Linked DNA regions of Homo sapiens: all the other regions are linked to region 1. The links are contacts of gene promoters, found by promoter capture Hi-C in human tissues and cell types (Jung and others, 2019). All regions are on one chromosome and are shown on one strand. The core of a region is centred on a gene start or on the middle of the fragment in contact, and the rest is flanking DNA. Distances in the headings are between cores, read along the strand shown. Region 1 holds the start of VSTM2L (V-set and transmembrane domain containing 2 like). Region 2 overlaps CTNNBL1 (catenin beta like 1). Region 3 overlaps CTNNBL1 (catenin beta like 1).

Region 1 (2,520 bases), core at 7-2,506:
GCTGGAGTTGAGATTTCCCACATTTCAGTCCTCTAGGGCCGAGGATGAGGATGGGGGTACCCTATGGAAGGATGGCACGGCTTCCTGCCCATCCCCAGAGGCAGACAAAAGCACCCGGCATTCCACTTCCACTCCCACTCCCATGCCTCTGGCTGCAAGCAGCAACCCCAACTACTCCGGTGGCTCTGAGGGGCTTCCACCAGGTGCCACCCGCCCAACTGGGAGGCTGCAGCCCCAGGCGACCAGTTCTCAAGAAACAAGGTCTTCTGCCCCCAAGGACCTTTCCAGTGGTATAGGGCTGGGTGTGGAGAGGAAGAGGACAAGGGCCTCTGTGCGGTTAAACCCAGAAGAGTAAAGGCAGATGGGCAGAGAGGAGTGGGTGAGCAAATTGTGTTCATGTGTGTGTATGTGTGTGCCTGTGTGTGTGTGCGCGCGCGCGCACCAGTGTGTCTGCAGGTGGGCAGGCAAGAGTTGTGGCGAAGCGTGTGCGCCAGCTGGCAGAGTGAGCCCACCGGCGCAGTGCCTGATGTGCGTGTGTAGTGGGCATAAGTGTAAAGGCTTGCAGTGAGGAGGGGGACCTGAGGTGTGTGGAGATGTGCAGGGTAGGAGTTGTGAGTGTGAGAAAGCAGCGACTGTGGCTCTGAGTGTGTCCGCGGCTGTGCATATCGGTGTGGCCATGCAGGTGTGCGTATCCGCGCGAGTGTGTGGGGAGGAGGTTCGGGGGTGCGCCCCGGGTGCCCCCTTCTCTGCAGGGCCAGGGTGCCAGGGCGGGTCCACCGCGCCGGCAGGGGGCGCCCCGGGATGCCCGCCACGACTGGCGCCGGTTCGAGCCCCGGGGCGGCCAAGTTGGAGTGGCGCGGCCCGGGTTGGGGTTTGGTGGGGAAGTCCGCGGGGGCGGCGACCGAACTCACCGTGGCCGGAGACGTGGTTGTCCCAGGGCGCGTGGCCGGCGGGCCGCGTGGCGCCGCCGAGTTGCAGGAAAAGTGCCAGGTAGTGGAGGGCGCCCAGCGCTACGGCGAGCGGGGCCCCCATCGTGCGCTCTCGGGCCGGGGGCGCCGCCGCCTCACATCTGGGCCCCGGAGACCGCAGAACCGGCGCCAGCTGTCCCCTGCCCTGAGCGGCCTGGCTGCCCGGCTCCGGCAGCTGCCCCTCGCCCGCTGTCCCCGGACCCGGCCCAGCTCCCAGCCCTCGCCCGGCTCCGGCCCAGCCCCGGCTTCGGGGAGCGAGCGCACGCCCAGCCGGCCGCCTCCGACTGCGGGACTCTTCCCTTCCGCGGAAGGCCACGCCGCGCCGCCGCCGCACCCTCCTCCCTCCTCCCGCCTCCCTCCTCCCCTCCCTCCTCCCCTCCCTCCTCCCGCTCGGAGCAGGCGGCGGAGGGATCTGCCGCTTGATTTATCATCAAAGTTTTGCCCAGGCTGGGATTTTTAAAGCGGTACCCGCAACTTTCCCCCGCCCGAGTGCGGAGGCGGGGCCGGGATGGGGCGGAGAGAGCCACCCCAGGGACGCGGTTCCCGCAAAGCACGACCCAACGGGCTTCAGCCACAGAAATGCCGTCCAGCGGGGAGAGGGAGAAAAGCCAGGGCACCCGCCGCCAGGCCAGCGCACTCAGAGGCTCCTAACTTTACCGGCAGGGCGGGGCCGGGGTCAGGGGCCAGTGGGGCTGGGGGTGAGGGCGAGGTAGGGTGGGAGCCTGGGCTGAGACCCAGGGGACCTGGTGATAGCTCTGCCGCCGACCTCGGCTCGCTGTGTGATCGCGTCCGGGTGTCTACCCCTCTCTGAACCTCGAAGTCTTCATCTGAGAAATAGGGGTAATAGCTGTCTGCGGGGGTCCTGGTGAGGATTTGCGAAATCGTGCATGCAAAGCGCTTAGCATAATGCTGCCTACGTGGTAGGAGCTCAGTAGTTATTATTGTCGGTGTTCCCCTTTCTGGGACTCAGTTTTCGAGTCTTTGTAATGGGAGAGAGACAGGCCAGTTAGTTGTTGCGGCTCCTGGCTCTTGAAGATACTGGACCTTATGTGGTGGATGGGATCGCCCCCTTCTGGACTGTAGGCTCCTTCCCTAGACCAATGAGCCTTGATGGTGTGTGTGTGCATGAGTGTGTGTGTGCGTGTGCGTGTGCGCGCGCGTATGCGTGGGTGTATGTGTGTGTGAGTGTGGCAGGGGAGGGGGATAGGGCACCATTCCCATTCCCAAGAGCAAGAATCCAACAAAGTCCTCCAGTTCCTTCCCAAGCCGTGTTACTGGGGCTGATGGGACAGACAGGAGGGCGGAACTGTGGTCCCATTTAAAAGATAAGGAAGCGCCTGAAATCAGGTAATTAGCTTCTCTGAGGTCCCACGGCGAGTCGGGCGAGGCCCCTGACTCCTGGGCGGGGTCCCTCCTGCTCTCATCCCTTGCCCTTCCCCAGGCCTCCCTGCTCACACAGCCTGGTCCTCCCGGTTTCAGCACCACGGAGGAGGACAGCGCCAGCCCCCCCCCCGCCCCCCGCCCCCCGCCCCACCCGGGCCCATCCTTTGGG
Region 2 (2,520 bases), core at 15-2,514, 190 kb after region 1:
ACACACATAAGTCGAACAGCACAAAGCCTGGCTCTCAGTGGGCTTTGATACCGAGTAGTCCTCAGCCCTTTGTTTTGTTCTTTTGGCTTGGTTTCATGGGAAGGAGAAAACGTATATTCTTTTATTTCATTAAAAGTAGGAAAATTTCCATGCTCCTCTATGAGCTGCTTTGCATTCACTTAAATTCAGGAACACGCCATCCCTGTGACACCCTGCCCATAAACACAAAGTCAATCTGTCAAATGAAGAGCAAATCTGCCATTAGTGCAGAGGCAATACCTCAAGGCCAGCTGCACACCCACCCCATGATATTATCTGCCTAGGCTTGGTGTCATGCCCCTGAGAAAAGCTATGCTCAGTACATTCAGCAATCAGAAAGTTCACACGGTCAGAGGTGCCTCTGCCTCACACAAGGTGAAGCATAGCTAAAAATTGCTTTTTTAATTAAAATAAGACTTCCTCAACCGCCTGCTGACAATCACAACTAGAACATGGAGCCCAGAATCAGTTAACCAGTCTCCATTCTGCTCTAATGGTGGTTTTAAGCACTCAGAGAGGGGAGGGGGAAAAAATTACCAATTTAAACAAAATGTTTAATCTTCTAATTATGGGACAGGCTCCAAGAGGATGGGAAGTGATTTGCAGTCTTCATTATGGAATCCCCACGCAACCACTGGCACAAGTCATGTCAGCCAGAGGCACATGCCATCTTTTTCCCCCACTGAGCCTTCTGTGTCCTTGCAAGTTTTGTGGGAATGGAAAAAGAAATCTTCAGTCAAAAAAAATGGGGCTGAAGCTTACGAATTTCTGTCTCCAAGTTCATCATGCTGAGTGAGGTGTAAGGATCCCCAGTGAGCAGCCAGGGAGACAATATTCAGTGACTTTACATTGGCAAGCTTAGCAGCCCTTTGAAACTCTAAAATCTTATAAAAACTGCCCAGGTCCGGTGGTGCTTAAGCCATTTTTTAAAAAATTTGCTGAAAAGTCCTGTCATCAGCACTAAGAGATGCACTGAAAATTAGGGTGGTGCCCACCAACGGCACTTCTGGTCGGAAGGAAATCTGTTCCTCTGCAGATATGCTTGTATCTTTGCTAATTTGTGTTATCTCTGCCCGTTCATATCTCTATGTGCTAACTCAGGAGAAAAAGTCCCTGCCAACCAACTCTGACAAGTCTGATGGCAGAACTCCCAGTGGAGATCCAGCAGAGACAGCAGAGGCAGGCAATTATTCCCTTTCATTAGGAACAGTTCTTTTTAAGTTTGGGTGTTTTGTATTAGTATTATTTTGAACACAAAAAGTAGCCATTCACAATCGCTGCTCAATGCAGTCACTTACACAACTGACAGCAACTGTAATTTCCCCATAAGCCAATTGAAAAAGATGGCCTGGAAGTAACTAGAAATGGTTGTGCCCCCTTAATTACCCACTGTAATGTAAAACCAGACATGGAGAGAATGGCCATAGCAGATCTGGGCAAAGTGGCAGTGATATTTAATCATCACTTCAGACCATCTGCAACTGTTTTGCAGAAGCACATCAAGTTTATAGATTCTAAAGCTTCCTACAAGTTACCAGGTGCTGAGGGTCAGCTGCATTGTCCTCAGGCCATGAGGGGATGCTTTCTTCATTCTCTCCAGGCCAGGGCGCTCAACAAAAGGCACGATGCCCACATTTTCTGAGCCAAGCCTGGCACAAGGAGAGCGCTGCTTCTTGATTAAGCCAGAACACAGATTAAATGTTTAGAAGTGGAGATTGTGAAAACAACCTAGGCGGGAAAGCAATTATCCCAGGGACAGCATGGCTTCAGCTGAGGCCCTCTGCAGCACAAAGGTGAATTCCACACCCTCCCACAGCTAAGCTGGCCAGAATGCTCCTCTACAATTCTCCACTCTGTAGATGAAGCCATCTTTTAAAACGTAAACCAAATTGTGTCACTCGACAGCTTAAAACCCCTAATGGCTTCCCATGGTGCTAGGAATAAAGTTAAAAAATGTTAGGATTCTCCCTCCTCCCCGAAGCTGACCCCTCTGTCCTTATCAACTGTCCCCTCTTCACTCACCAAGCTCTGGCCATACATGACAAGTCTGTTCCCACCTCAGAGTTTTTGTTTTGGCTTTTCCCTTGATCTTTACTGCCAGTCCCACAGCTCTTCATATGTCTGGATCTTTCTCATCATTTAGTTCACAGCTCAAATGTCACCTCTCAAAGAGGCCTTCTAGAACCTTCCAAAATAAACAGCCACTGCTCCCCCAACACTATATTACATCAGCCTATTTTTTTCCTTCATATTCCTATTTGAAATTATCTTGTTTTTATTTATCTAGTATGTGTTTGCTTGTTTAGGTATTGTTATTCATTGTCTGTCTTGCCTCCCTGGATGTAAGTTCCATAAAGACAGGGACTACAACTATCCTGTTTAGCACTTTATTCCCAACGTCTAGTGTAATACCTTACATTTAGTAGGCATTTAATAAATATGTATGGAATGATTAAAGAATGACAGGTTCAATATGGAGCA
Region 3 (2,520 bases), core at 14-2,513, 170 kb after region 1:
CACAATGTACCCAACATACCACTAGAATTTAACTAAAATAATCAAAACATTTCTAGGAAAGGGTTAAATCACTTTCAAGTAAGCTCAATATCTGCTACTTTTTCTTTTCTTAGCTAACATCTTGCCCCACTCTGGAGAAAAACCACATTAGTGTTAACACAGCTCTCATGGGATTTCCGAAGTCCTAGCCTCTCCGGGGTTTGGCCTTCCCTCCTTTAATTTCTCTCCAACACTGGGGGAAAACTGAATTATCAGTCTTAGTCATCAGCCACAGCAGTATCTCCAATAGCTCAACGTCAGAAACCAGAGGGAGATTTCAGAAAGATGAATGCTGATGATGTAGCACAAAAAGGACAATAATATTTTACAAGTTCACGTGACTTTACAGGGGCAAACATCACTTGTTTTTCATCAAATGGGACTTCAGTGGCAGTGAGAAAATAACTCCTGGACTTGTAGCCTTCCATGTGTCATTTTTACAAAGCGATCTCTTTTTCCCTGTCCCTTAACAGACGGGTTGGTCCCACATTACATTTCTGTCTCCCAGGCTAGAAACCACTTACCCATGACAGCTACTATCCTAATCCTCCAGTACCAGCCTTGCCCTACATGGGAATTATACCTGCCAATTAACTGCTGCTGCAGGGCTAACAGATTGAGCAGAAGCTGGTGAGGAGGGAAGGGAGGGAGGATGTGCTACACACACTGTTTGTCTAAGCCCTGGCAAGGCTGCTGCCCTCAGAGAGGAAATTAAAAAATTCAGGACTGTCTCCCACCACGTATTTCTAAAGTGCCATCATCTTTTAGCGGGAGACCCCCAAATTAGCACTAGTACAAATCCTAATAAAGACAGAGCTATTGTCACAACACAGTAAAGACCTTTTTGGAATATGAATCCATTTTTTCTTCTTCTCAGATTCACAGCCAACCTCATTTTGTAATCCAAACTTAGCATCGTGTCTTTGAGAGAACCAAAAAACAGCTGGCTCTTAAGACTCTTATTTCCATAATTCATATTGAACAAAATGCCAGAGTGAAATAACACACAAGTTAACACTTAAAGATTTAAAAAGACACAGAGGTAAGGTCATTTTGTTTTTAATCACTGATATTTTACCTCTACTCTTCCCAGCTTCATTCATTTATTCATTCAATAAATATTTATTAAGGGCCTACCAAGAGCTAGGTATTGCTCTGGGTGCCAAAGATAGAGCTGTGAACAGAACAGAGCCAGTCTCTGTTTTCATGGGAGGCTGAGAGGAGGACAGCAATGAGCAAAATAAACAACTAGAATTTCAAATCATGATACGTGCTATGCAGACAATATACAAAATACAGTAATGAGGAAATGAGAGAATGGCTTGCAGGGCTACATAGGAAAGACTTCTTGGAGGAGGAAACATCTGAACTGAGACCTGAATGTGAAGAAACCAGTCATACAAAGCATTAAGGGAGACGAGCATTCCAACAGAGGACACAGAAGTCCAAAGGTCCAGAGGCAGGAATGAGTGGAAAGGCCCCAACGCATCTTGAGGAACAGCAAAGGGAAAGGCCCGAGGAATCTCCTTCCCTAAGCTGTACTTTTGCAGTCACACCTAAATACCTAATACTGTGGAACCCATTAAACTTCTCCACTTTTGTTGCTTTGCTAATACCATTTTCTCTGCCCAAAAAGCCCTTCCTTCCACTTGGTGAAATTTGACCCCTCTTTCAAAGATAATAATGCAAGTGCCTTCTATGTGTCCTCAGTAAGATCCAGGAAGCCTGCCCTGACCCTCCCCTACAGTACATAATATGGAACAATTTTAAAACTCTGTCACATTCTTTACATCTCATAAGATGCTTTCCCAACTGCACTAGCCCACTTAACCTTCACATTAACGCGATGAAATATGAATTCTTAACCCCATTTTACAGATGAAGATGGGAAGCTCAGACAAGCTTAGTATTTGGCCCAAAATTACGTTTTACAGGGCCAGCCATCTCAGCTCCCACCCAGCGCTGCCACGTTACCTCTTCCTCTTCCTCTTCCCCATCTCTGTCAATAATCTGCAGCAGCCTTTTTTTGTCATCATCCGCTTCCTCCACCACAGTCATTTCTTCTTCCCGATAGCGGCCGCGTTCTCGAGTACCAGTTTGTTTCCGACGCATCTTCTGCTCCTCCTCTTCATCATCCCGGGGACGTTTTGTGCCCCTATTGGGCTGAGAGAAAAGAAACATAAGATTTTAGAGCTGGATACAACATAGAAGCCAGGCGTGGTGGCTCATGCCTATAATCCCAGCACTTTGGGAGGCCAAGGCAGGCAGATCTCTTGAGCCCAGGAGTTTGAGACCAGCCTGAGGCAACATGGTAAAACCCTGACTCTACAAAAAATACAAAAAAAGACTTTGCAAGGCATAGACAGCAAATATCCTAAAAGCTTTCAAGAATTCTCTGACTCAAAAGCATCCAGCATACAACTTCTCCCACCACATGGGGTAAAGCTCTATGTGGTCATTTTTCAGATCCTTAATGATTCT

Evidence for each region. Contacts are between HindIII fragments. The study calls those that stand out against the background at their distance.
Region 2: a fragment that was not itself captured here is called in contact with the fragment with the promoter of VSTM2L in region 1 in 5 of the 25 tissues and cell types used here (H1 embryonic stem cells, bladder, dorsolateral prefrontal cortex and 2 more).
Region 3: a fragment that was not itself captured here is called in contact with the fragment with the promoter of VSTM2L in region 1 in 4 of the 25 tissues and cell types used here (H1 embryonic stem cells, IMR-90 fibroblasts, dorsolateral prefrontal cortex and 1 more).

Annotation. Positions count from the first base shown.
Region 1 is chr20:37,901,863-37,904,382 of GRCh38, reverse strand. It overlaps VSTM2L (V-set and transmembrane domain containing 2 like), which reads right to left and starts at 1,256. Exons shown (of 4, transcript NM_080607.3): 1 at 912-1,256. The coding sequence starts at 1,032. All of the region lies in intron 2 of LOC124904896 (a long non-coding RNA gene), which reads left to right. RefSeq lists an enhancer at 993-1,956. The HindIII fragment of the contact is 19,122 bases long and covers 1-2,520 here.
Region 2 is chr20:37,711,385-37,713,904 of GRCh38, reverse strand. All of the region lies in intron 1 of CTNNBL1 (catenin beta like 1), which reads right to left. Among named protein-coding and RNA genes, the nearest start is that of CTNNBL1, 19 kb to the right of the region's middle. The HindIII fragment of the contact is 3,882 bases long and covers 1-2,520 here.
Region 3 is chr20:37,732,561-37,735,080 of GRCh38, reverse strand. CTNNBL1 (catenin beta like 1) reads right to left here. Exons shown (of 16, transcript NM_030877.5): 2 at 2,014-2,202. Among named protein-coding and RNA genes, the nearest start is that of CTNNBL1, 40 kb to the right of the region's middle. The HindIII fragment of the contact is 3,761 bases long and covers 1-2,520 here.